7 separate regions of the Homo sapiens genome follow, and regions 1, 2, 4, 5, 6 and 7 are each linked to region 3. The links are contacts of gene promoters, found by promoter capture Hi-C in blood cells and fetal thymus (Javierre and others, 2016). All regions are on one chromosome and are shown on one strand. The core of a region is centred on a gene start or on the middle of the fragment in contact, and the rest is flanking DNA. Distances in the headings are between cores, read along the strand shown.

Evidence for each region. Contacts are between HindIII fragments. The CHiCAGO score rates a contact against its expected background, and 5 or more counts as called.
Region 1: a contact is called between a fragment that was not itself captured here and the fragment with the promoter of FAM99B in region 3, in 3 of 17 cell types (M0 macrophages, M2 macrophages and M1 macrophages). The highest score is 9.6, in M0 macrophages.
Region 2: a contact is called between a fragment that was not itself captured here and the fragment with the promoter of FAM99B in region 3, in 5 of 17 cell types (M0 macrophages, M1 macrophages, activated CD4 T cells and 2 more). The highest score is 7.7, in M0 macrophages.
Region 4: the fragment with the promoter of MRPL23 here is called in contact with the fragment with the promoter of FAM99B in region 3 in 10 of 17 cell types (M1 macrophages, neutrophils, monocytes and 7 more); the score reaches 9.6 in M1 macrophages.
Region 5: a fragment that was not itself captured here is called in contact with the fragment with the promoter of FAM99B in region 3 in 2 of 17 cell types (M2 macrophages and M0 macrophages); the score reaches 6.5 in M2 macrophages.
Region 6: a fragment that was not itself captured here is called in contact with the fragment with the promoter of FAM99B in region 3 in 17 of 17 cell types (M0 macrophages, neutrophils, M1 macrophages and 14 more); the score reaches 16.8 in M0 macrophages.
Region 7: a fragment that was not itself captured here is called in contact with the fragment with the promoter of FAM99B in region 3 in 3 of 17 cell types (M0 macrophages, M1 macrophages and M2 macrophages); the score reaches 7.9 in M0 macrophages.

The regions. Positions count from the first base shown.
Region 1 is chr11:2,105,720-2,109,739 of GRCh38, forward strand. No RefSeq gene overlaps it. Among named protein-coding and RNA genes, the nearest start is that of MIR483, 26 kb to the right of the region's middle. The HindIII fragment of the contact is 9,248 bases long and covers 1-4,020 here.
Region 2 is chr11:2,027,015-2,030,784 of GRCh38, forward strand. No RefSeq gene overlaps it. Among named protein-coding and RNA genes, the nearest start is that of H19, 31 kb to the left of the region's middle. The HindIII fragment of the contact is 4,258 bases long and covers 1-3,770 here.
Region 3 is chr11:1,683,637-1,687,366 of GRCh38, forward strand. FAM99B (family with sequence similarity 99 member B) reads right to left here and starts at 1,993. Exons shown (of 3, transcript NR_026642.1): 1 at 1,802-1,993; 2 at 558-666; 3 at 1-398. RefSeq lists an enhancer at 1,329-2,098. The HindIII fragment of the contact is 16,209 bases long and covers 1-3,730 here.
Region 4 is chr11:1,945,836-1,949,417 of GRCh38, forward strand. MRPL23 (mitochondrial ribosomal protein L23) reads left to right here and starts at 1,497. Exons shown (of 5, transcript NM_021134.4): 1 at 1,497-1,544. The coding sequence starts at 1,528. It overlaps SNORD131 (small nucleolar RNA, C/D box 131), which reads left to right and starts at 3,496; the gene lies at 3,496-3,582. RefSeq lists an enhancer at 3,426-3,582. The HindIII fragment of the contact is 42,193 bases long and covers 1-3,582 here.
Region 5 is chr11:2,183,866-2,187,693 of GRCh38, forward strand. No RefSeq gene overlaps it. Among named protein-coding and RNA genes, the nearest start is that of MIR4686, 13 kb to the left of the region's middle. The HindIII fragment of the contact is 1,911 bases long and covers 1,018-2,928 here.
Region 6 is chr11:2,002,397-2,006,467 of GRCh38, forward strand. It overlaps a transcript of MRPL23 not described here. Among named protein-coding and RNA genes, the nearest start is that of H19, 6.6 kb to the left of the region's middle. RefSeq lists an enhancer at 1-46. The HindIII fragment of the contact is 6,201 bases long and covers 1-4,071 here.
Region 7 is chr11:2,087,289-2,091,240 of GRCh38, forward strand. No RefSeq gene overlaps it. Among named protein-coding and RNA genes, the nearest start is that of MIR483, 45 kb to the right of the region's middle. The HindIII fragment of the contact is 7,456 bases long and covers 1-3,952 here.

The sequences.
Region 1 (4,020 bases), core at 699-3,198, 420 kb after region 3:
TCTGAGAGGCCAGCAGGACGAAGGCCACAGCCAGCAGCCAGGACCTGACCACTTGCCCAGGCTGGTCTGAGCTCCTGGCCAGGGGCCTCTTGGCAACATGACCTGGCAGGTGCTGTCTGTCCATTATTCCCCTCTCACGGATGTCCCCGGCCTCTGTGGACATGACCGCCTAGCCCTGAAACTCCAAATGTACCTTTCTGCCTCTCCTCTTCTCTGTCAGGTGATGCCATCCTTCCCAGGGGCCTTCTGGGCTCTTCACTCCTCTAGGCCCTCAGCAAAGGCTCTCACTCTGCCCTCAGCACACACCAGGGTGCAACCACCCTCACTCCTCCACCAGTCCCTCCCAGTCACTCCCTTCTGTGTGTATCCCAGCAGGTGCCTCCACTTCTCCTCTTGCACTCTGGTCACTCAGCAGCCACAGGATCCCTTCACTCCTAAGCAGAGACCTCCACTAGCCCCACTTCTCTCCAAGAAAAAGCTGCATCCCCTTCAGGGCTTCCTGATGCCTTCCTGGGCAAGCTCCCCTTGGTTTCTCAGGTGTGTTTCTCAACAACCCATGCTTCCTCCCTATCCACCACTCCTCAGAGACGCCACATCACCTCTCTACAAGCCTTGTACCCGCTGCTCCTGCCATGAGATGCTCTCCCCCAGATGTCCATGTGAGTATGTGGTGGGGGCTAGAAAGGTATGTAGATGGGTAAATGGTTGGCTGGGTAGATGGCTGGATGCGTGGGTGGATGCATGGATCCATGGAAGGAAGGAAGGAAGGAAGGAAGAGAGGGAGGGAGGGCAAGAGGAAAGAAGGAAGGAAGGAAGGAAAGAAGGAAGGAAGAGAAGAAGGGAGGGAGGGAGGATGAATGGGTGCACAGATGGGTGCATGGATGGGTGCATGGATGGGTGCATGGATGGGTGGATGAACAGATGGATGGATGAACAGATGGATGGATGGATAAGTGGATGCATGGATTCATGGAAGTAAGGAAGGAAGGAAGGAAGGAAGGAAGGAAGGAAAGGAAGATGGATGGATGCATGGATGGGTGCATGGATGGATGGATGGATGCATGCATGGATGGAAGGAAGGATGGATGGGTGGATGGATACATGAACAAATGAGTGGGTGGATGGATGGATGGATGAATGGGTGGGTGGATGCATGGATGGGTGGATGCATGGATGGATGGAAGATAGATATATGGATAAATAAGTGGGTGTATGAATAGGTGGGTGAATGGACGGATGAATAGATGCATAGATGGGTGGATGCATGGATGGATGGATGGATAGATAGATAGATACATGGGTGAATGAGTGGATGTATGAATGAGTGGGTGAATGGATGGATGAATAGATGCATAGAGGGGTGGATACATGGATGGGTGGATAGATAGATAAATACATGGATGAATGAGTGGGTGTATGAATGGGTGGATGCATGCATGGATGGATGGATAGATGGATGGATAAATGGATACATGTAGGAGTGAGTGAATAGATGCTTGGATGGATGGATGGAAGAAAGGATGGATGGATAGATGAATACATGGATAATGACTGGGTGTATAAATGGATGGGTGGATGGTGGGTGGATGAATGAATGGATAGATGCCTGGATAAATGGATGGATAGATGCATGGATGGATGAATGGATGGGTGGATGCCCTTTCTCTGAATGCCAGCCAGGAACGTAGCCAAGTGGAAAGGCCCAGGTGGGCAGCTGTCTTCCCAGACCACTCACACTGACCTGAGAACAACTGCTGGGCCCCAGGTGTTGAAAGGGCAAAAAGAGATGTACCCAGCTGGACTGTGCAGGTGCTGGCTGCCCGTTGTTTTGAGCCATGCTCTGATTTGTTCCTCTGTGCCTGCTCTGGGGACTTGGCCACTCTGAGCCATCTGCAGGCTTCCCTGGTGTCCCCTGTACCCATACCACAAGCCAAGTTCCTCCAATGTCACCCTTGATTGCTGTCCCTTGTGTGACTCACACTGGTCCTCCCTGTGTGATCATAGGCTATTCGCCTCTGCCACACACCACACTCATCACCCAGGCTAATCTGGGTGGGAGGCAGACTTGTCCAGCGCTCACAGCTGCTGAGCCTCAGAGCCAGGCCAGACCCAAGGCCAGGACTCCTGAGCTCCCCTCCAACTCTCCGTCCTTACAAGCCTTCCTTGCACCAGCCTTGTCCCCTCTGGTCTAGTTGCATCTATTTCACCCCTGCCAGAAGACGGTGTTCGTTGCCTATGGCTGCAGAATAAATTAGTCCAAAACTTAAAACAATAAAGACTTAAAGTGATGGATATTTATCATCTCAGTTTCTGTGGGTCAGGAGTACAGGAGCAGCTTAGCCTGGTGGTTGTGGCTTGGCTTGGCTGCCACCCCCTGACACCCCAAGCCAAGCCACCAGCCCTGGGCCCCAGCCATCTGAAGGTCCTGCTGGACTGAAGTGTCCCCTTCATGCCTGGCAACCTAGTGTGGCTGTCGGAGGGATGCTCAGTCCTTCCACACAAACCTCTGAGGTTTGCGCATCCTCACAACATGGCAGCCAGCTTTCCCCAGAGGGAGTGAAGGGAGAGAGGTGGGGGAAGAAGAAGGATGCTGCAGTGTCAATTATGACCTGGCCTCAGAAGTCACCCGCCGTCATTCCCACTGTTGGTTACACAAATCCATCCTGTTAATGTGAGGGGGGCCGCACAGTGGCCGAATTCCTGGAAGTGCAGATCTAGGCCCATGGCTACCATGACCTGCAGCTGACATGCTCTTCTTTCTTCCACAAATGACATGAAGTGAGAGAAGCAGTGGGCAAGGTAGCCCCAGACTGACCATCTTCTTGTGGTTCCATTGCCGACACCTGGTGACCTGGCCCAGCCAACACCTCCAGCCCCCTCCTCCTTCCCCACAATAGGCTCAGCTCAGGCCACCCTGAGCGCCAGGGGCAAGGTGTGCCTGGAGCTCTTCAGTGAGACAGTGACTGTTTCTGGGGTAGCCCTGGACCCTGAACCCCTCCAGTGCTGAGATAGACGAGGGGTCCCTCCTTACTGTCCCCTTCCCTGGCCCCATGACTCTGCAGATTCCCCAGCCACAGGGCAGGAAGGGTAGAGCCAGCGTTTTGGGTGGGATAGGGAAGGGCCCGGCTGGGAGGCAGAACAGCTGGTGGAGGGTGGGGGAGGCATCCTGAGGCCCTGGGGGACACCAGGGCACCGACTGTACGTTGTTCTCCATCCCCAGCCTGGGCCAAGAGGGCAACCCAGGGAGCCCAGGACCTTGTCCAGCAGCTGAGGCCTCTGAGGGGAGAGTGCCAGAAAGAGTGGGGGTGCCAGGGCTCTGTCCCCCATCTTTCCTGGCTTGGGTTTCTGGGAGAGGGGGCGGGTGTTGACTCCCGGAGGGGCTGCCCTGGAAGTCAGGTGGCCTGGCGGTTCCCAGACCTGCCAGCCCTTGCTGAGGGAGCCTGCAGGCTCTTCTCCTTCCCAGGCCTCCCCGGCATCTGAGAACCTTCTCCCCAGCACTGACCCATGGCTGGGAGAGGGTCAGGGCCCTCAGGGAGCCCGGCTGAGCCAGCACGGGACGCAGGGGTCGGCTCCTTCAGACCCCCCCACTTTCGGGCAGCGGTGCCCACGCCCAGCTGGGCAGGGCCGAGTCCATGAGACCCACTGCCCTCCCCGGGAGCTCCCGGCCAGCCGCCCACTGCAGCAGCCCGTGTAAAAGTAACGCCTGTTATGCCAGGAACGTCACAGGGCCCTGGGGCTGCAGACAAGCTGGGTCTTTTTTTTTTTTTATTATTAAAAAGCAAAACCTAAACCAAGAAAACAAAGTGATTAAGTTTCTCCTCAGAACAGCAGGCCCCACAGAAACGAGGAGCGACCGTCCCACTGGGTGCTTGGACCCTCACCCACCACTCGGGAAAACAGCCGAATTCTTCACACAAACAGGAAGCAGCTGGTCTTCCCTGAACATGAGGGGAGGGCTGGGGCCTCAGCATGCGGGCTGCCTAGAAGGTGGCGCTGCAGCCAGGCCCTCGGCTGGGCTGG
Region 2 (3,770 bases), core at 679-3,178, 340 kb after region 3:
GTGCTGCCCGCTGCCCTGTTCTTTCCGTGAGCTGCAGCTTTCCTCATCCCCCCGCCCACCCGCCTTGCTCTGCACCTCAAACTCCCTGCCCAGCCCACCCAGCTGTGGCTACTGGCTGAGAAACCGAGGCCCACAGACCCTGGGCAGAGGGAGACAGGGGACAGAGACAGGCAGGGCCGGGGTGGGGGCTGCACAGAGACCCACACAGGGTGATCCTGGGCCATCCTGGCTTCGAGGGGGGCCATGGTCCCTGACTGCCCAGGTGTCTTCGAGGGCCTCTTTAGGGCACGCCTACTTCCAGCCCTGGAGCTCAGCTTCCTTTTGCTAAAGAGTCAGGGAGTGTGGCCACAGAGACAGCTAGGCAGTCAGGCGCCGTGGAGGGCCCAGGCTGCTGAGGTGACACAAGTGGAACTCGGGGGCAGCTGCCGCTTGATGCCGTCACACGGCCAGTCCGCCGCCCGTCCACTGCCAGGCTCACGGGCTTCACCCTCTGCCCCGACCTCTGGCTTTCAGGCCTGTGAGGGACGGGTTCTCAGACACCAAGCATGTGGTCTGACGGGGCTGCACCCTTGCCCACTGGGCCCACAGCTCTGCAGCAGGCACCTGGGGCTCCTCCCTCTGAGAATGCACAGGCTCAGCCCGGGGCCGGGCTTGCAGGGGCCACCAGCACACGTCCCATGGCTCAGGGCCGGATGGGGACTGGCCGGGGAGATGGAGCTCTGGGCAGCATGGACTAGGCAACATCTCGCCACTGCCCACGCCAGCACCAAGGCCTGTCCTCTCCAGGCGGTGCCCTCGCCGGTCCTGCTGGCTCAGCTGCCCCTCCCATCCCACTGGTCTCCACTGGCTGTGAATGGCAGTCCCAGCTGCTATACCAGCCTGGCCCGGGCCGCCCCCTGCAGGGGCAGACATCACTGCCAGCCTCATCCCCAGCTCTCAGGCACCGGCCGTGTGGGGCACAAGAGCGCCCAGGGAGGCTGCTGGCCTTTTTTGGGCCTGTCCACTGCAGGGCCACCTGTGCCCACCAAGGGGGGCCAATCAGCACAGCCGTCTGCACAGGCGCTCAGGCCGAAGGACGGTGGCTATTTCAGGGCCTGGCGTCAGTTTCCCTGTCCTCTTCCCAAAGAGGAAGGGAATGTAGACGCCTGGCCCGGACAGGCGCCAGCCAGGCACTTGGAGACCCCAGAAAGGGCAGCAAGGAAGGGAGCAGAGAGGCCAGCCCAGGCCCGTCCAGCTCCCCTTTCTGCCCATGAGCTCACGGGTTCTGGCCCTCGGGCAGTTTCGAGGCCCCCATGTCACCGTCTCCCCACACCCTGGTTCCAGGAGAGGGTAGGGGAAACGGCCCTTCCTCCGGGGCATGCAGGGTGGGCCAGGTGGCCCTGGTATTCCCTTTTGCTTTTGCAGCTTCTCCCTGCCCCAGGGTTGGAGGGAACCTCAGCCCCCTCTGACGACACCGCGGGGGCCCCAGACCCTTCGAGAGGCCACTCTGGTGCCTCCATTGTGAAGCCCTGGCTTTGGGGCTGGGCTCAGCAGCTCTTGGAGGACAAATCAGGTCCCTCCTCCCTTGCCAGCTAGTAAGGCCGCCAGGCTGGCACAGGATGAGAGTGAGCTACAGACTGTTTTAGAGGGAGGCTGGGCCCTCCTTAGGCTGGCTCGGGACGGTGGGGAGGGGCAGTCTTCATCACAAATGGGTGGCAGGCGGCTCAGCACACACGGCACTCCCCGAGCCTCTGCAGGCATGAGTGGCAGTCAGCCGTGTTCCCTCTGCCCTGCCCCGTGCCCCTGCGCCATCTCCTCCACTCCAGGAGAGACCAAGGGAACCAGTGCTGCCCTGGTGGGGGGTTTCTCTCTCCAGCAGGTCACCTGGCGAGGAGGGCTCCAAGCCTCAGCGTGAATACTTAGACCCCCCCCCACCACTGCATCCTGGAGAGCGAGCGAGTGGGGAAGACGGAGGGGGCTGGGGGAGCTGTGGCACAAGCAGGGCGAGTAAGATGGAGCAGGAGGGAGCTCCACCAATCAACCCAGCCAGCTCTGGAGCCACCTGGAACACTCAAAGGGAACGTCCTTCTGTCCCCAAGAGCCCCACTTTAGGGCTGTTTGCTGGGCTGACTCCCTGGCCTGCAAGACCCCAGGTTGCTCACTCAGCCCAAACCCCCACCCATGGCACGGACCGCCCTCTCAGCCAGCCCACTCGGCTGGCTTCCCAGGACTGCCAGGGTGAGCTTCCGAAAACTGCTGGGGCTGGTTCTGTGTCCTCTGGGGAGACACCCTGGTCAGTGCTTCCCGGGGCTGAAAACGCCCAAGGAGCTGACCGCATGCCCGGCTTGTTTTCTTCCTGGGACAGTAAGAAATGGGCGCAGGGTTTGGAGAGGCTGCCAAGCTGCTCCAGCCCCAGGGTGCTGGGGGTCAGCACCAGTGTCTGAGTGCCCGGGTCCTCAGGAGACAGGTTACCCGGGCTGGCTTGAGCTCCCAAAAGCAAAGCTGGCACTACCCACCCACCTCGGGGCAGAGCCCCTGTCAAGACCCAGAGCTGTCCCAGTCTGCTCCTGGTGAGGCGGGGACAGAAACCAGAAGACCTCCCTGAGCTAGTGGGCTACCAGCTCTGCCTGCTTGGAGTTGGGGCTGGGAGAGACAGGGGCCGGCGAACACAGAAAAGCTAAAGTCTGGCTAAATCCTGTAGGCTCGGGTGGGTTCTGTTTGACCACAGGCCTTTGACCTGGGGTCGACAGTCTTCCCCTCCAACCTGGAGCTCAAGGGTGAGCTTCAGCCTGGATGGGGGCATTGGGGGCTTGGAGGGTCCTGGACGCTCAGAGCTGGGTGCCAGATGGGAGTGCTGGCCAGCCCTTGGGAGCAGTGCTCCAGGGACAGTGGGCTCTGCCTGCAGAGAGCTTGCAGTCTCCCTGGGCAAACACCAGGCAGGCCTGGAAAGCGTGTGTCATTGAGCTGTGCCAGGACGGCAAGCCGGGAGTATGTGCTCCTTGGGGAGCGGGGCCCAGGTCTGGGCTCCAGGGCTGCCTCTTGGCTGGATACCCAGCTTCACATTTGGCTCAACACAGCAAGGAGGGGTCAGGGGTCTCAGGCAGTCAGGCCTCCAGTCTCAGTCCTCACACCACTGCCCCCGGGCGCAGGACCAGCACACGGACAGGCACAGGCCACAGCGCTGGCGGTGCCCGGAGGAGGGTGTGTACGTGGCTAGCAGCTGTAGGCGTCCTGGGGGCTGCCAGGCCTCTTGCCTCACCCTCCCCTTCAGGGCAGCATGGAGTTTTGGGATTTGACCTTCACCCATTTCCAGATCCTTCCAGGGCTCCCCTGGAAGCCCCTGCCACTCCACACTGTGCCAGGCCCCAGGTGGAGAGAGCTCCCACCTGTCCAGTGCTGTGGTGTGGGGCTGTGGGGGGTGGTGCTGGGTGGGGCATAGCCTGCTGCTTTGAGGGACACTGACCTTTGAATTGAGGAGGGTCCTGGGCCTTCAGCAGGGGAGGGACACAAGGCCACAGCCCCCTTGGCCTGCCCGAGCAGATGACAGCCAGGTCTGGAGGGGCAGGCAAGAGAGGAGGACGGCACAGGTTTCAGCCCAGCATGTCACCTGAAGGCCTCAGTGTCAGAGGCAGGGCCCCTGGGGCCGCCCCAGCTCCCTTGAGCCCCAGAAGTCCAGGAACACACAGTGCCCAGACACTGCACCAGGAAGCAGAGGCCTTGCCCAAAGGTGTCGGGGCCGGGGCTCCCCAGGCGGCTGCTGAAATGGCCCACTATGTCTGCACCTGTGCCCC
Region 3 (3,730 bases), core at 743-3,242:
GGTGGGAAGTCAGAGCTGCTTCCTTAATTGGCATTTTCCAGTTGAGAGCACATTCTCTACCTTTTTCACTTGGATCAGCTAATTGCCAAATGTTTTCATTTTTGAGAAGAAGTAAAATTGCAGAGATTTGGGATTTAGGGAAGGAATGCAAGGATCAATTTTGCCTAATTACGAAATGTCTCGGCGGTCACTGTGACGGGTCCCAGAGTCGGCCGTGTGGACCCCGGGGCCTCCCGGGCGGTGGGGGGCCGGGGGCTCTGATGCAGATGTTTACCTGATGTCGTGGGCCTGAATCTGGTTTACATTGGAAATCAGACTGTTTACAGGCCAGCACATCTGCCTCTTCCTCTGGCTCTCCTTCATTCTGCTGTAATGTTCTGCAGGTCTCGCTGGGGTCTCTGTGGGAATATCTGTGACACGGAGTGAGCCAGGCCAGCCCGGGGCGGCCCCATCCGGGGACAGCAGCTCACGGCCTGGCCCCGCGTGCGCAGCCGGGGCCTGGGTTGGCGGTGGAGATGGGGAGGGTCTGGGGGCCCCTGGGTGGGTGGTGGGGGTACCGTCAGCCCGGCTGCAGGGTTCCAGCGGAGGACAGGGAGCCTTCTCCATCCCTGAAAACCATCGCGGGGACAGTGGACTCATCAGGATGCCGGGACCCTCTAGTGTGTTCTGGAAGCAGAGGCTGGGTGTGGGCACGGGAACCTGTGATTGTCCCCAGACACCGAGAGGCCCACAGGACCCCCAGTGCCCAGACCCCGGCTGCAGATCGGGGGGTCCAGTCATGTGTCGGGGAAGGAGGAGGGGAGCAGGGGCCACAGACAGGGGGTCCAGGAGGGCAGGGGGTCCAGGAGGGCAGAGGACCCAGGACAGCAAAGGGTCCGGGAGGGCAGAGGATCCAGGAGGACAGGGGGTCCAGGAGGGCAGGGGGTCCAGGAGGGCCCAGGAGGGCAGGGGGTCCAGGAGGACAGGGGGTCCTGGAGGGCAGGGGGTCCAGGAGGGCAGGGGGTCCAGGAGGGCAGAGGGTCCAGGAGGGCAGAGGGTCCAGGAGGGCCCAGGAGGGCAGGGGGTCCAGGAGGACAGGGGGTCCTGGAGGGCAGGGGGTCCAGGAGGGCAGGGGGTCCAGGAGGGCAGAGGGTCCAGGAGGGCCCAGGAGGGCAGGGGGTCCAGGAGGACAGGGGGTCCTGGAGGGCAGGGGGTCCCGGAGGGCAGAGGGTCCTGGAGGGCAGGGGGTCCCGGAGGGCAGAGGGTCCTGGAGGGCAGGGGGTCCAGGAGGGCAGGGGGTCCAGGAGGGCAGAGGGTCCTGGAGGGCAGGGGGTCCAGGAGGGCAGGGGGTCCAGGAGGGCCCAGGAGGGAAGGGGGTCCAGGAGGACAGGGGGTCCAGGAGGGCAGAGCCACAGCAGGCTGGGTGCTGCTGCTACAGGGGGCTTCACCCCAGCAGCCCCCTGCACTGCCCCTCTGACAGCCTCCACCTTTGACCCCCCAGAACAATGGGCTGCTGTGGCGGCTCTGGAGGCTGCGGCCCCAGTCATGGGGCCTGCGGCTGCCATGGGCTGAGACCCTGCTGCTCTTCGTGGAGACACTGATGTCCTTACCAGATCTCCCGGGCCCGCCCTCAGCCTCCAGGCTGACCAGGCTTCCTGGGCCTCCTAGGACACAGCCCTGGGTCTCCTCCTCTAGGATACTGGATGGGAATCTGCGGCTTCCAACATCCACCTGCCCGCCTTCCCCTCTGCCCTGTCCCCTTGCTGCCATGGCCGCCTTTGTCCTCCCTGGAGATTCAGAGAGCAGCCCCGTTCTCAGTTACCTGGCCTTCTGGGTCCTTGGGAGGTTCTGACCTCTTCCCAGCAGGGGCCCTGGGGGCTGCGTCCTGCCTGGTCCAGGCCTTCTCACCCTCACCTCCCTCTGGGCTCAGGGAGCTGGGGCCACACAGCCCAGAGAGGCTGGTCTGCCCAGGACAGGCCACCCTCCTCCTGCTCCCAGGAGTGCCTGCAGCCCTGTCAGTTTCCAAGAGTGTCTCCTTCAAGCAGCCTCGTCAGGTCGAGCCACCCCCAGTGCCCTCTCTCCTCTGGCAGCCGCGCTCCCTGCCCTTCCTCCCCACCTGCTCAGTCCTGCAAAGCCTCCTGCCTAGCTGGACACCTGGGGGTTCTGTATCCCACACTCCAGGGGCCTCCTTCACATGTCGGTGACCTCTGACACTCCAGGGGCCTCCTTCACATGTCGGTGACCTCTGACCGCTGTTTCAGACCCACAGCTCCTGGGTGCACTCAGCCTTGGGTCCCGATGGCACCAGAGTGTTCCACGCCTGGGGCAGCGCACTCATTGCAGATCTGGCCTGAGACTCAGCAGCCGGGCACCCCATGAGATCTACTTTCTGAATGGCGTCGTCACCTGACTGGGCATACAGGCCACGGACCCCATGGTCATTTGGGCACTGACCCCTCTCACACCCCCCAAATCCCACCTGAGAGCAGCCCATCAGGCAGGCCCCATATATTGGATGCCTCTAAGTATCAGCCTTGATGTCCCTCTAATTCCAGCCCTGGTGTCTTCTCCCTGGGACACCCTGCTGCTCCCTCTAGCTGTGCCCTCCACGGTGACTCCAGACATGCGGATTCAGCCTCTTCGCTCCAGGACCAAACTCCTCAGCAGCTCCCACTACTCCCAGCATGCCATCCAGCTCCTCAGCCCAGCAGCAAAGACAGGCACAGAATGGCTCCCGAACCCATCGCTCCGGTCCGGAGAAGGAGCCCTCCACCCTCCACGCTCCATTCGCTGTCCCCTTGCGGGCCCCTGTGAGGAACCCCAGCCAGAGGCACCAATGGCCGCCACTGACTTTCACCCTGTCCTGAATCACAGGACCAAGGAGGCTGCCCCGACAAGGGTCGCTTCCAGACTCACTCCCTGTCAGCCACTGCCACATGCCTGCCGTGGGCAGCATTGGAGGACAGGGGGTACTCTGTCAGTCAGCCTAACAGGCTGGTCCGTCCTTCCTTCCTTCCTTCCTTCTTCCCTCCCTCACTTCCTTCCTTCTTCCCTCCCTGCCTCCCTCCCTTCCTTCTCTGCTCCCTCCCTCCCTCCTCCCTCCCCCTCCTTCCCTGCCTCCCTCCTCCCTCCTTCTCTGCCTCCTTCCTCCCCCTTCCCTTCCTTCCTTCCTTCTCTGCTCCCCCCCTCCCTCTTTCCCTCCCTCCCTCTTTCCCTCCCTTCCTCCTCCCTCCTCCTCCCTCCCTCCCTTCCTTCCTTCTTTCTTTCCTTCCTTCCTTCCTGCTTCTCTCCCTTCCTCCCTCCCTCACTTCCTTCCTTCCTTCTTCCCTCCCTGCCTCCCTCCCTTCCTTCTCTGCTCCCTCCCTCCCCCCTTCCCTGCCTCCCTCTTCCCTCCTTCTTTGCCTCCTCCCTCCCCCTTCCCTTCCTTCCTTCCTTCTCTGCTACCTCCCTCCCTCCTCCCTCCCCCCTCCCTTCCTTCCTTCCTCTCTGGTCAAATGCGGGTACATGAGAGTTCCCACCATCCCCATGGTAAGTGCACAGTTCCGTGGCATTGGGAACCTGCACGTGGCTGTGCCACTGTCGCCACCATGCAGCTCCAGCACCTTTTCATCGCGCGAAACTGGAGCTCCGTCCTGACTAATCACTCACTCCCATCGGCCTCTGTCACTGGCCCTGCTGACTACCATTCTGCCATCTTCCTCTTGAATCTGACTCCTCTGGGGGCCTTCCATCTGTGGGGTCACAGCATTGG
Region 4 (3,582 bases), core at 247-2,746, 260 kb after region 3:
TCCTTGGGCCTGGCCAAGGGCACCTGCTGCTGGGCAAAGGCCTGTCTGGTCACCAGCCTCCTGGGACCCTGCCACTGGCAGCCTGGAGCTTCTCCACCTCACGCAGGCCTGGACAACAGTGGGGACGGCTGCCACCACCTTCCCTGCCCACTCTGGCCCACTTCTCACTCCATCCTGCTTCAATGCCTTCATGCTAGATAGACCCCCTGGAGTCATTTCCACTCAAACCCACCCATCAGGAGGAACTCCAGCCCTACCCGGCCCAGGCCCTCGGAGGGGCACAGTGCCCTCTCCTCCTCCTGAATTTCCATCAACCCCAGTGCCCTCCCGCAGCCCTGTTCCCACCTGCAGGCCTGGGCCCCCTGCCCCCAGCAACAACCAGGACCCATGGCCCCGCTTCTTGCTCTGAAGCATGACACCCCTGCCTCTTGCTCTGAAGAACACTTAGGGTGCTGTTGGGTGCGGGAACAAGCCAGGCTTGGGGGTGGGGGGCACGGGCAGTTAAAGAGATAGATGGAGAAGTGGCCTGAATCCAGCCACCAGGCAGAGGAAACCAGGGGAGGAGGGAGAGGCCTGGGGACAGGGGAGGGAGGCTGCTGCCCTCTACTCCCGAAGGGTCCCAGCAGCCCTCCTGGCCAGCACTACCCAAGGAAAGGAGTGAGGACTGGGCCTTGGACGGGGGTCCCTGTAGAGAGGGCCTTGCCAGAGGCTGGAGGGGGCTGGCCAGAAGGGTGGAGAGGGGGTGAGCAAACGGCAAGGCCTGAAGAGGCCAGTGGCCCTCTTGGAGGAGGCGTGGTGGGAGCACCGAGGATGGACAGCGTGGCTGGTGTGGCCAGCGTGGGGGCTGCCAACCGGGCTGGCCAGAAGGGCGAGGTGAGGGGCCCTGGGGTTCCGGGCTCCCGGGTAAAAACAGCCAGATGGAGAGAGGGGCTTCAGACCCCAGGCCCGGGGACCCGCCCTCCCCAGCACTACAGCCCCGGTTCTCCACTTCCAGCTCCCAGCAGCTGCAAGCGCAGCGGTGCGGGGCCAGGCTGTGGCCTGGAGCTGCCAAAGGGCAGGGGCACGGGTGTGGGGGGCGTGCAGGCCGGGGTCCCGGGAGGCAGGGCAGACAGGCCCGAAAGAGTGCGACGGCGGCGGGAGGTCTCTGGGGCTGGGAGGGGTGCGGGCGTGGGCGGGGCGCGAGCAGCAGGGGCGCGGGCCCGGGCTTCAGGCTGTGGGGCCGGGAGTGCGGGGCGGGACTGCTGCGGCCCCGCGTCCTGTGGAGTCTGCGGCGCGGGGAGTGGGGGTCGGGGCGGGGAGGAACGTGGGGTGCGGGACAGGAGGGGGGCAGGGAGGGAGAAGAAGGCGGCGCGGGGCGGGGCGGGCGCAGGGCTGGGGACGGCACGGGCGCGCGGCACGGGCGCTGGCGCGTGCGGGGGGGGCGGCGCGGCCTCCGGAAGCGAGGGGGCGCTGTGCCAGGCGGCGGCCGTGCGGGGCGGGCGCGCTGCTCCTTCCGCCTCGCGGACCCCGGAAGCGCGCGTGGCCGCCATGGCGCGGAATGTGGTGTGAGTAGGGGTCGTCACCCCCCCGTCGCGGGGCGCCCCTTAGTGTCACAAGCAGACGGACCCCACAGGGCGCGCGGACTCCGGGGAGCGGGGTGGGCGTCCCTGGGCCGCCTCCTGGCCCGGGCGAGGCAGGGTTCTCCGGGACCCCCTGTCATGCCTTGAGACACGCGAGGCGGGTGGCGGAGGAGCCCCCCGCCAGGTTTAGGGCAACCCCAGGGGGCGGGCGTGGCCGGGCTGGGGACAGAGGGTCCGAGCCAAACCCATGGAGGCCACGGTGCCCCCGCGTGGGGAGTGGGAGGGTGGCCCGGGGTCAGGCCCGGGGCTGGTCCCGCAGCCAGGGCCGAGGGAGCTGTTTGGAGACGTTTCTGATCGTCACGGGGCGGGGGCCACGTCGGCTGTTGGGTCCAGGCGGGGAGGCCCGGGCGGCCCCCACCGCAGCGCGGGCGCGGCCTGAGGCAGAGGAGCTGGGAATCCAGATTGGGTTTGAGTGGGAAAGGGCAGCTGACCGCAGCCCTCAGGGCTTTGGGGCAGGCAGGGCGGGAGGCCCGGTTCTGCTCAGCCCAGACCCCCCACGCCCACTCTGCATGTTCTCTGGATTCCCAGGGGGCCATCGGGGCGCTGTCCTGCACCACTTCGCCCTCCCCAAATTGAAGCAGGAAGCCCTGCATATTTCTTGGTGAACGAATGACTCAGGCGTAATCAGTAGATGTGGGCTCCCGGGTGGGTTTTGGAGAACAGTAATCAGTGTTTCTGGAGAGGGACGGTCAAGGGGCCAGGGTGTGGCTTTGGAGGCCCCTGCACATAGCTGGGGAGAGAGGGGAGGGTGGCAGGTGGGACCCCCAGTGGAGGAGGCTTCCTTCAGCAGACACCTGGGACCGGTGCTGCGCGTGGCCCTGACCTTGGGGAACACCCAGCACCAAGGAAGAAAAGGTCTGAGTGAGGCCAACACTGCCCTGAGCCTCACGTGAATTCCACGCTGGCCCTTCGCCTGTCCCTGGAGAATGAGGAGGAAGTGAGGGTCAGAGGACCCGGGTGGGGTGTTCCTGAAGGGCCAAGGGTGGTGGGCCCCTGGAAACGGATCAGGTGTGGTTGCCTTGGAGGCAGCGGGGCCCGCTCGCCCAGCAGTGCACACACTCCTGTTGCCAGGGAGCCTTTGCAGGGAGCGCTGACTGGACTTGCTGTGGACTGGATGCAGCTGGGGTGGGGGTGCCGAGAGGGTGGGATCCTGGGTGAGTCACTCGTGGGGCCGTGGGGAGGCAGGCTGGTGGCAGTGAGCCAGGTTTTTGTGTTTTGAGGAAGAAGTTAGTGCAGAGTTCTACTTGAGATAGGTTACCGTGGAGGTGCTTGTGAAATCCCATGCGGAGTGCTTGGGGTGCTCCCTGGGGAGAGTGGGACTGAGGGAACTGAGGGCTGGTGGGCCCACAAGGGTTCGAGAACAAAAGAGAGGCCTTAGAGCCCTGTCCTGGGGCCCTGGGTGTCGACAGTGCAGATTGTTCCAGATCTGCAGGCTCCATGCACAGGCAGCTGGCGCTCCAGCCTGGAGAGGCTCGGCCTGTGGGAACAAGGACAGTGAATCGTCCTGGCCCAACCCCTGCCAGCCTCTCATCTCAAGCCCACACATGGCCCTTCAGACCCTTAGCAAAGTGTGCCCTTCAGGCCCCAAGCCTGGAGACTCGAAAATTAATGGCCTGGGAGCTGTTGAACCCTCTTTTCTACTGTTTACTGGGAGTCCCCAAACTTTGTCTCCACTCCTGCAGTCCCACAGCTGGTCACCAGAGGGAATGTGTGAGCCCCTCGGGTGGCCATGGCTAGCCTGAACCTGTGGGTAAAACAAGTCAGGCCCCTCCACCTCCAGAGCCCACCCTTTCTTCTCGGCCTCTCACTGGGGCCCACCCCTGAAGGCTGCACTCTGAGGCTTGGAAAGGCCAAGGCCATGCCCAAGAGGAGGCTCTGCTGGGGTTGGGTGAGTGAAGACTCAGCCCCACTGGCCCGGCCACCAGGCTGCCATGTGTCAGTGTGGTCATCAGGAGGCCTGGGG
Region 5 (3,828 bases), core at 723-3,222, 500 kb after region 3:
TTTTTTTTTTTTTTTTTTTTTTGAGATGAAGTCTCGCTCTGTCCAGGCTGGAGTGCAGTGGCGTGATCTCGACTCACTGCAACCTCTGTCTCCCGGGTTCAAACGATTCTCCTGCCTCAGCCTCCCGAGTAGCTGGAATTACAGGCATGCGCCACCATGCCTGGCTAATTTTTATATTTTTAGTAGAGACAGGGTTTCACCATATTGGCCAGGCTGGTCTGGAACTCCTGACCTCATGATTCACCTGCCTCGGCATCCCAAAGTGCTGGGATTACAGGAGTGAGCCACCGCGCCCAGCTGAGACCCCCCTTTCTGTATACACATACACACACACATACGTTTTTTAAGAGATGGGGCCTCACTCTGTCACCCAGGAGTGCAGTGGCACCATCATAGCTCACTGCAGCTTCAAACTCCTGGGCTCAAGCAATCCTCCCACCTCAGCCTCCCAAGGAGCTGGGAATGCAGGTGCGCACCACCACGCCCAGCTAATGTTTTAATTTCTTGTAGAGATAGGGGATCTCCATATGTTGCCCAGGCTGGTGTTGGACTCCTGGCCTGGGTGATCCTCCTGCCTTGGCCTCCTAAAGTGTTGGAATTATAGGCATGAGTCACTGCACCCAGCCTTCTTTCAATTCTTTTGGGGCTAGACCTAGAGGTGGCATTGTTGGGCCATGTTGGACCATTACACACTCCCCCCAACAGAGCACAAGACTTCCAATTTCTCTACATCTATATTATTTTTAATTTTAGTTACATGAGCAACAGATTCTCCTTTGAACACACACATACACACGTGCACAAACACAAATATAAAAAGGTGCGTGTGCTCCTGGCCCCCCAGCCTGGATACTGGAGGGTGAGCCCCTTTGGGGAGGAGGGAAATCATGAGCTTATGAGCTCTGGGAGCCCACATTCATGTTCTTAGGAATGCCCCAGCACCTCTCCCGTCACACTCCGCCAGCGCGACCCAACAGCGTCTGTCTTCCAGGTCATCATCCACGCCCGACATTACAAAGCTTGAATGACACTTCAGCGGCATCTCAGGTCCGCTTGCTTCCCGAGCATCTCTACTTCTCCCTCTCTCGAACGATCCCTTCACTTCCTCCCCTCATCTTCCCTTTGGAGCTTACACTTTTCCTGATGAGATGTGGGAATTCTTTACGCATTCCCGACATGAATCCTTTTCGGCAGGAAGTATCATCTCCCAGAGCCTGGTCCACCCTTTACCGTGTTTATGGAGACTGTGGTCATCAAGAAGGCTTGGCAATGATGTGGCTTCGGGGAGCCACGCTTGTCAACCGTCTCCTTTGTGGTTTCTGCCATCCGGATCTTGTCCAACAACCTACCCCAAAAACAGCAATGTTCCCCCAAAGAAGGGAAGCACCAGCACCTTTCTCGTGCACACTGGGGTAGGGGACTGTGTTCCCAGAAAAGCACATGTAATGTCATAGCGCAGTTTTGCATTTAGAAGCAATAGCAACCGATGGTCTATTGTTTCTCTTTTACAAACCACAGATGGTGGGCTGGGCAGAATCTTCTGAATTGGGGTGAATGTATCTGTGAGTGCCTGTGCAGGGGAGGCAGCATGGAGGGCATGGCCTCCAGGCAATGCTGATGCTGAGGTTTTGATGTTTATCAAAGGGATCAAGGGTTAGGAAGGCAGAGAGAGCTGTCAGCTCCACAAGCACTGAGATGCCGCAGGGAGCCCTGCGGAGGGAGCAGGCAGGCCATGCACCCCACCTTCCTTGGGGAGGGCCTGGGCGCCAGGGCTGGGCGACATGAGGAGGCTGACTCTGTCCAGGCCACCTCGGGATCCCCGCCCCCTGCGCCAGCGCGCCTCTGGAGTGGCTTCCCATTCGGACCAGAATGGGGACCCTCAGGCTTGCATCCTCTGAGGGTTCGTCTACGGGCACAGGGGGCCTGGGCTGGCCCTGGACTCGAGGCCGATGTCATTACCGCTGCCCTGACAGTGTCAGAGCCTGCGCCTGGCTCGCGCTCCAGAGAAGGAGCTGCAAAACTCAGCCTAGATTGGCAGTCTCCCAAGGAAGCTGGGCGAGGGCGTTCAGCTGGAGCTGGGGTGGGGGCATAGGGAAGGCGGTGGTGCCAGAGCGGGTTTGGCTGTTTGGAAGGGGGTGGGGATGGCAGGATCTCCAAATGACCTCCTCTGGAAGGAGCCCTTTCCTTCTAGATTCAGCTCCTGGGGTCCCCACCCTTATGATCCTCAGAGTGCTGTATGCCCCCTCCCCACTGTCCGCCTGGGCAGGGAGCAGTCACGGGGTGGAGCTGGCGTCCAACATCCTGGCCCCTCTTCCTGGCTCCCACCTGGCACCCAGGTGTAAATGGCTGTGGTTTGGGGCGTTCCAGTCCCTCCCCATCTGACCTCTGCTTGCCACCTTCTCCGATCCAGGCTATTGCCCCCTCAGCCCCAGGGCCTCTCACCTTCTCCACATCCCCACGGAGAGCTGGGAGTCCAAACAAATCCCACGGTCCATGCAGCCTGCCACAGCTCCATGAGACACCCAGGCTTAGTGAGGACCCCTGAAATGTGTACACAGGCCTCACGGTTCTTCCCAGCCACCCTCACTCTATCTCTTTCCAGCAAACACCTCCCAATACAGGTGCTTCATTGATTTCATCAAACGCACGTTGCCTTGGCCACTCTCTTACTCAAGCACTTTCAATGGCTCCCACTGCCTGAAAATGATGGCATGACCTCAGGTCTTGCCAACGCAGGGCCCCTGGTGGGCCGGACCCCCCACTCTCTAGCACTTCCCCTCCTCTGCGTCCTTCTGCTCACAACCCCCACGCTCCAGTCTCAGAGCCCATGGGAGGGGCCTCCTTTGACATTAGGAGTAAAATTTCCAGGCATTTTTAGACAACAACACGTTTGAATATTGACTCTGACCTGCCGTAGATGCCCCGGTAAGCTTATTTTATAAAGGACCCCAGCACAAAGGCCTTCTCAGCCTGATATCCCTGTGGGCACCACAGGATGGCGCCCAGACGCAAGCACTTGGGCAGCCTTCACCCAGAGGACGCACGTGTGCTCCCTCGGAGCCTCCAGGTGAAGCCACTGCAACCCCCGCTGAGGAGACAAAAGATGAGGGCGGCCCACCCAGGCCTCCCTGGAGAGGCTGCTGAAAAGGGCGGCTGCATTCGAAGGGCAGCAGAGGCAGGAGCAGGAGGCACGGCCGGGCGAAGGGGGCCCTTCCCAGGATGGCAGCCCGAGAAGGAAGCGGCGCCAGGCAGCCAGGGACTGACTGCTCTCCATGACAAGCTGCGAACACAAGATATCTAAGTGCGTGCACACACACAGACACACACACACACAAACACACCACACACCACATACACACCACACACCACACACCACACACACACACAGATGCACACCACACCATACACACACCACACGCCACATACAACACACACAAACCACACACACCACATACACACCACACACATGCACACCACACACACCACACCACATCACATACAAACACACCACACACAAACCACACATATACACACCATACACACAAACACCACACGCCACATACGCACACATACGCACATGCACACCACACACACAAACACCACATGCCACATACACACCACACACACACACCACACACCACATACACACAAGCTACATGCCACACACACCATACACACACCACACACAAACACCACACACACCTACATACATACCATGCCCCACATACACACAAGCTACACGCCACACACAACACACACAAACCACACACACCGCACATACCACACACGCCTACATACATACCACATAGACACAAACCACATGCCACA
Region 6 (4,071 bases), core at 1,404-3,903, 320 kb after region 3:
AATGGGGACACCTCATTGTCACCAAAGTATCTCATCTCCCCAACCCTCAATAGTGCACCCTGGGGTGAATCAGACACGTAGCCCAATGTGGCTCCCATGAGTGTTCTATCCCTCACTACCCCCGTGAACCTTGCGGCACCTAGCTTGCGTGACCCGGGACGTTTCCGCGGGTGAACCTCAGCTGGGGCGGGCTTGAGCTGTGATGTGGGAGCCTGCACTGCCGCCGCGCGGCCACTTCCGATTCCACAACTACAACCGATTCTGCACCATCGGGGCGGTGAGACCGAAGGGGAAGCCTCCAGAAATACACATGTGCTATGCAAGAGCCCCCAGGCTCTGTGCCTGCCAGAGACCCTGTAGGAGGGGTCTCACGCTTAGGCCGAGATCCCTATCATCCAAGGAACTGGGACACCTCATTGTCCCCCAAGCATCTCCTCCAATCTCCCCAACCTTCAACAATGCACCCTGGGGTGAATCAAACACATAGCCCGATGTTAGTCGCATGAGTGTCTATCTCTGACAACCCTCGGGAACCAATGCGGCACCTGGCCTGGGAGACCTGGGACGTTTCTGTGGGTGAACCCCAGCCAGGCGTGCTCGGGCTGTGATGTGTGAGCCTGCACTGCCGCCGCGCGGCCACTTCTGATTCCACACGTACAGCCGATTCTGCGCCATCAGGGCAGTGAGACGGGCCTCCCTTGGTGAGGTCAGCAAGATGGGCCGCCCTCGGTGAGGCTGGCATCCAAGACTGAATGGGAAGCCTCCAGAAATACCTGTGCGCTGTGCTTGGCAGGCTCCCACGATCCCTGTTCCTGCTGGAGGCCCTGTTGGGAGGGTCTCCCTCTGGACCTTGGGCTCAAGTTCTTTGGGGTCCAAGTCATGACCACTGCAGAACAGAGATTTCTCTTTGCCTCCAAGTATCCACTGTCCTACGTGCTATGGGAGCTGTCATCGGTGGTGTCCCTGGGATTAGGCTCCCAGCCATGCATGGGCTCCTAGACAGCCCCAGGGTTCTCCCATTGGGAAATGCCGCTCTACTACACATCAGCCACAGCGCATTAATGCTTGGTTCTCCTGGTGAAACCGCCTCTGCAAAAATTATTACAGAAAATCGGCCGGCGGTGGTGGCTCATGCCTGTAATCCCAGCAGTTTGGGAGGCCGAGGTGGGTGGATCACCTGAGGTCAGGAGTTCAAGACCAACCTGGCCAACCTGACGAAATCCCATCTCTACTAAAAATACAAAAATTAGCTGGGCATGGTGGTGGGCGCCTGTAATCCCAGCTACTTGGGAGGCTGAGGCAGGAGAATCACTGGAACTCCGGAGGTGGAGGTTGCAGTGAGCCAAGATCGAGCCATTGGACTCCAGCCTGGATGATAAGAGCGAAACTCTGTCTCAAAAAAAAAAAAATATATAACAGAAAATTATGACAATGAAAGAGATCTGACGTAACCAACTCTGTCTTGCCTTCTTATTCATTTCTGGGTGCAGGCTGGACTAACTTTGGGAAGAACTTAGTTTATAGTTTATCTTTGAAACAAAGACAATAACAGCCCTTTCCCAGGACAGACCCTCTTCCTGCCTGGGGACTAGACTTTCAGGACTAACAAATTAGCCACAGATTAGAAATTATGGTTTAGGAGTCATGGAGTCACACATCTGGAGGCTGAAAGATTTTTAACCTCCTCAAATTGCTCCTAGGATTACATCACTGTTGCAGAACCTAAGATCAGTGGTTGAGATATTTCGCAGACCCTGTACTGGGTGGATCAGCTGGCACCCCCCAGATTGATAAACTGGCTCATCTAGTCTTGTGGCCCCCACCCAGGAACTGACTCAGCAGAAAAAGATGGCTTTGACTCTCCATGATTTCATCTCTGACCCAACCAATCAGCACTCCCTATTGACTCGCCCCCTACCCACCAAATGATCCTTAAAAACTTTGATCCCCAAATTTCCTGGGAGACTGATTTGAGTAATAATAAAACTCTGGTCTCCTGCACGGCCGACTCTGTGTGAATTAAACTTTATTGCAAGTCACCTGTTGTGATAAAGCAGCTCTGTCCAGACCGGCGGCAGGGAGAACCTGTTGGGCGGTTAGACGGGTTCAGACACTACTCTCCTGGGGGTGATGGACATCTCTTCTGTTCACTGATTCCCGGAGGAAGATTTGGGAGATTTTGCCTGGGAGCAGGCAAACACCTCGGGCTATTTGCTTTCTAATGGGGCATTTGCATGTGTATAGGACAGACCGGGAGCTGCCCAGTTTCTGCTTCCAGGCGCACCTGCTAAGAGTAGTCTTGCCAGTGAAGCGACTGCTGGGGTACAGCAGCACAGCACAGGGGACCTAGTTTTTTTTTGTTTGTTTTTTTGTTTTTTGAGTCTCGCTCTGTCCCCTAGGCTGGAGTGCAGTGGCATGATCTCGGCTCACTGCAGGCTCCGCCTCCCGGGTTCACACCATTCTCCTGCCTCAGCCTCCCAAGTAGGTGGGACTACAGGCGCCCACCACCTCACCCGGCTAATTTTTTGTATTTTTAGTAGAGATGGGGTTTCACCGTGTTAGCCAGGTTGGTCTCGATCTCCTCATCTTGTGATCCGCCCGCCTCAGCCTCCCAAAGTGCTGGGATTACAGGCGTGAGCCACCGCACCCAGCAGGGGACCTAGTTTTGAGGACTACTGGGGTCGGGTCTGGTCTGTGCTGGCCACGGTAATGGTGAGTGCCTGGGTGCTATGATCCACACACAGGGTGGCACCAACATGAAAGTGGCCAGAGCCCCAGCCAAGGTGCCCAGAGCACTTGGGTGGGGATGTGGGCACAGCGCTGTCACCTGGAGGCAGATGTGGGCACAGTGATGTCACATGGACAGGTATATAACCACAGTGATGTCACCAAGACAGGACGTGGGCACAGTGCTGTCACCGGGATAAAGATGTGGGCACGGTGCTGTCATCTAGATAGACACATGAGCACTGTGTGTCACCTGGATAGGGATATGGCACAGTGTCACCCGGATAGGGACATGGCACAGCGTGTCACCTGGATAGGGACACAGGTATAGCGTGTCACCTGGGTGGGACATGGGCATAGCACATCACCTGGGTGGGACACGGGTACGGCACGTCACCTGGATAGGGACACGGGTACGGCACGTCACCCGGGTGGGACACGGGTACGGCACGTCACCCGGGTGGGACACGGGTACGGCACGTCACCCGGGTGGGACACGGGTACGGCACGTCACCCGGGTGGGACACGGGTACGGCACGTCACCCGGGTGGGACACGGGTACGGCACGTCACCCGGGTGGGACACGGGTACGGCACGTCACCCGGGTGGGACACGGGTACGGCACGTCACCTGGATAGGGACACGGGTACGGCACATCATGCGGGTGGGACATGAGTACAGCGTGTCATTAGATAGAGGGGCTTTCTCTTCTCTCTCCCCTGTGGCTGGGACCTACCCAGATATAAGTAATGGGATAGCCCACTTGGGCTTTGCCAGTTCCCTGAGGCTGCCATAAGGAAGCCCCAGAAACTGGGCTGATTGGAACAACCACGTGGAATGCGTCTCTCCCTGTTTCGATGCTAGAAGGTCAGAGTCGGGGTGGTCAGGGCTGGCTCCTTCTTCGAGCTCTAAGGGAGGCTCCAGTGCTGGCCGACTTTCCCAGTGTTCCCAGGCTCCCAGACCTGTCACCCCAGCCGTGCCCATCTTCCAGGATGCTCTCATCCTGCGCCTTCACGCAGCGTTGCTCTCTCGTGCCTCTCCTCTACCTGTGAGGACACCATGATGTTTGATTCAGGGCCTGCCCTACTGCAGTCTGACCTGATCGATTGCGTCTATAATGACCCTATTTCCAAATGAGTTCGTGCTCTGAGATGCTGGTGGTCAGGGCTTCAACTTGTCTTTTCTGGAGAGGCACTAAACAGACTCCATGAGGAACTGAGGAGTCCAGAGCAGTGAGATGGAAGGAGGCTGGGCCCTGACCCTGGGAGCTGGCGATCTTCACACTCATGACCCTCTCATGTCTCTCTCCGTGACAGAGAAAAGCCAGCTCTGGGCCCATTCAGG
Region 7 (3,952 bases), core at 748-3,247, 400 kb after region 3:
CTCTTGGTGCTGTCTTTGCAATACTGAGTGAGTTCTCCCCAGATCCGGTTGTTTAAAAGTGTGTGGCACCTCCCCTGCTGTGTCTCTCTGATTCCGCCATGTGAGACACCAGCTTCCCCATCACCTTCTCACCTTCCTGAGGCCTCCACGGAAGCCGAGTGGATGCCTGGCGCCATGTTCCCATACAGCCTGCGGAACTATGAGCCAATTAAACCCCCTTTTTCTAAATTACCCAGTCTCAGGTATTTCTTTATAGCAGTGCGAGAATGGAGTAACACAGAGGGAAATTCTGGCACATGCGACAATGTGGAGGAGCCTTGAAGACACTACGCTCAGTGAAAGAAGCCAGTCCCCGGCCAGGCGCGGCGGCTCATGCCTGTCATCCCAGCACTTTGGGAGGCTGAGGTGAGTGGATCATCTGAGGTCAGGAGTTCAAGACCATCCTGGCCAACATGGTGAAACCTTGTCTCTACTAAAAGTACAAAAATTAGCTGGGCGTGGTGGTGGGCGCCTGTAGTCCCAGCTACTTGGGAGGCTGAGGCAGGAGAATTGCTTGAATCCAGGAGGCGGAGGTTGCAGTGAGCCAAGATTGCGCCTCTGCACTCCAGCCTGGGCTTCAGAGAGAGACTCTGTCTCAAAATAAATAAATACAAATAAAAAAGAAAGAAACCAGTCACCAAAGGACAAACGCCATGATTCCACTCACACGAGCTTTCTAGAGTGGTCAAAGTCATAGAGACAGAAAGCGCCAGGGGTACCAGGGGCTAGGGGAGGGAATGCGGAGTCGGTGTTCGATGGGGGTGGGGGTTCAGTGTGGGAAGGTGAGAAAGTTCTGGAGATGGATGCCGGTGACATCTGCACGACGTCGTGAATGTACATAGTGCCACAGAACAGTGCACTTAAACACGGTGAAGATGATCGAATTCACAGTGTGTCTATTTTGCCACAATAAATAAAGGAATCCATATTTTCCTATCTATTTTTAGACTATCATGTGGGGATTTGGCAGTGATCAGGTTACTCGATTTGGTGCAGTTAGAAAAGTTCGTCACTGTTTAAGCAAATAGGAAAGCCGTTTATCCTGCCTAGCTGTGAGAAAATCCCCTAGCGTCTTTGAAACTCTTCGGGAGCGCCCCCCTCCCACACGCCTCCTTCAGGCTCCACCCAGTGCCGGGCATTTGATTCTGCTGCTTCGTGCACACCAGACCGGCACTGGGCACCGGGCCGTCATCTGCTTCTGTTAATAAAGTTTTATTGACACTCTGCCCCCATCATTTTTATGTATGGCCTAAGGTTGCTTCCAATGGTGGAACTGAGTCATTACAACAGAGACCTGGAGACCACAAACCCTAAAATACCACGTCAGATCCGCATGTGGAACACCCTATTGCCAAATATCTGCTTGGAGCTGTGTACATTTTTCCTCGATCCCACGACTAAAACCAATTGTAATAAAACACGATAAAATTAATTTTGAAAATCCAAATGCTTGATCTAAAAAAAAATGTGGCCCCAGGATGTGGGCCTTTGAGCAGAAAGCCTGGCCGCGCAAGGAGGGGCTGTGGAGGTGAGGGCAGGGCTGGTGGGCTAGGGCTGAGCGGTTTCTGGAGTCCCAGGAGGCCTCAGGAGATGTGGGGAGCTGGGCAGTCGGCCCGGAGGGCAGGGCAGGGACCACCCAGACATGGAAGGTGTGGAGGCCAGCTCTGAAAATGGGGTGGGACAGAAAGGGAAGAAAGGGGCATGAGCCAGCAGCCGGGCAGTCAGAGCCAGGGGCCCAGGGAGCAGTGTGGTTTGGGTAACGGGTGTTTGCCTGCATCAGGCACTGCCCTGTCTGGGGAAAAACAGAGCCAAGAAAGGACTCGTGGGTTTGGCCACCTAGAGGCCACCAGAGGCCTTGAAGAGAGCTGCTTTGGGGAGGTGGGACAGTCCCGTGGATGTGGTTCAGAGGAGGTAGGAGAGGAGCACAGCCCAGAGCAGAAGCGCTCGTCTTCGGAGCCAGCAGGTGGAATTAATGGCCGCAAAGGTGTCTGATCCTCATCTCTGAATGTGACCTAATGAGGAAGAAGGGTCTGTGCAGGTGTGAGGAGGTGAACGGCTTTGAGATGGCAATCCGGTCCTGGACCATCTGAACACCATAAACGCCAACACAAGGTGGTTATAAGAGGGAGGCAGCTGGAGATTTGATGACAGAGGGGCGGAGGAGGCAGTGTGAAGACAGAGGCAGAGATGAGAGGAACGGGACCACATAGCATGGAACCGCGGGAGCCCCCAGGAGCTGAGAGATGCAGGAAGGGTTCCGCCTAGAGCCTCAGAGAGAGCTGGCCTTAGACACGGTGAGGTCTTAAGAGAGGGTGTGGTCTTAGAGGGGGTGTGGCCTCTAGTGAGGGTGTGGCCTTAGAGAGGGTGTGGTTTCTAGTGAGGGTGTGGCCTTAGAGAGGGTGTGGCCTCTAGAGAGGCTGTGGCCTCTGTGCCAGCAGATTCACTGCTAGAGTGAATAGATGGGTGTATAGGATCCTCATGTCCCCAGCTGACAGTTCAGGCCCTCAGATCTGGGAATCAAATTAAAGAGTGTTCTGAGTCCAGGGTCCCGAGGAATGCTACCACCCGATGAGGGGCGAGTGTAAGGGCAGAGGTGGGTTGGGTCCTGGAAGCTGGGCAGTGACTCATCTGGAGCCCCCCTAGGCCTGGCCAGCTGGGCCTGCCACCCTCATGCCCCACCCTCCAACACCCCCGATGCTGCTGCTCAGGGCCACCTGGAAGCTGAGCCCCATCTGGCTCCTAAAGTCAGCATGAAGACCCCGAGGCCACCAAGCATGCCAAAAATAATTCAGCTAGGGGAGGAAGGTGAGGGGCTAAGTTCTAAATAGGGCACAGCCACAAGCAGCACAAGCCTCACTGCCCTCTGCCCCTTGTTGATGCTGGGCCAACAGACCCTGTCGTAAGGATGCCTGGTCCTGGACTCCCTACCCCCGCATGGCAGGGCCAGGCAGACCTGTGGCCAGCAGCTGCCTGAGTTTAAAGGGGGCTCCAGTCCTCATAAAGGCCATGGGGAGGGCGGGCATGGGGTCTGCTCAGCAGGTACCCCCTGTCCTGCTGGCCACCTGGTAGCCTCCTGACCCCTGGCCCCTCTCGGCTCACCCAGGAGCCACCACGCCCTACCCACTGGATTAACTGGGCTTTGCACATCATTTCCAAAAGACACTGGGCCACAAAACTCCCATTCAGCCTTGTGACGTTATCGGCTCTCTGACCCCAGCCTGCTTCCCGGCCCCCCGGCCCCCTCCACAGGCCTGCTCATCTGGCTATGCAGCCTCCAACATCTGGACTGATGAAAAGCCACCGCCACTGCCATCCCCACAGGCAAGTGCGCACAGAGGCAAGCGGGCCGTGTCTATGCGCACACTTGTATGTCCAGGGCTTGGCTGTCCAGGGCTGAGGGCAGGACAAGAGCCACAGCAGCTTTGAAGACATCGGATTCTGGGGCTGGGCTCAGAGTGGCCGCCACCTTGCAGGGTCCCACCAAGACCACTGCAGCCTGGAATTTCCTGCTGACACTGGACGTAGGAGGCCTGGAGGGCCTGCAGGGGTCAGCCAGCGCCTCCAGGACCCTCACTCAAACCTTGTCCCACGCCTTACCACCTTGCACCTGGTCTTCCCACACCAGGAAAAGCCCCTCCCATCCTCCAGACCCCAAAACTCTCAGGCGGCCCCCACACTCTTGGAAGCCCATGACTTGTCATATCTTCTGGGGAGTTTTGGGCCCCAGTACAGCCCACAGCACAACCTCCTGAGGGGCTTGGTTTATTTATATTTTTACTGTAATGACTTACTTGAAATTTTGCTTATTTATTATCTTTTTATCTCTGACACCCTGAGGGGCTTGGGAAGGGTGAACGGAGTGACACTCTGGAGGGGGCCACAGGCTAACCTGCAGGCCTCACATGTGGGTGGA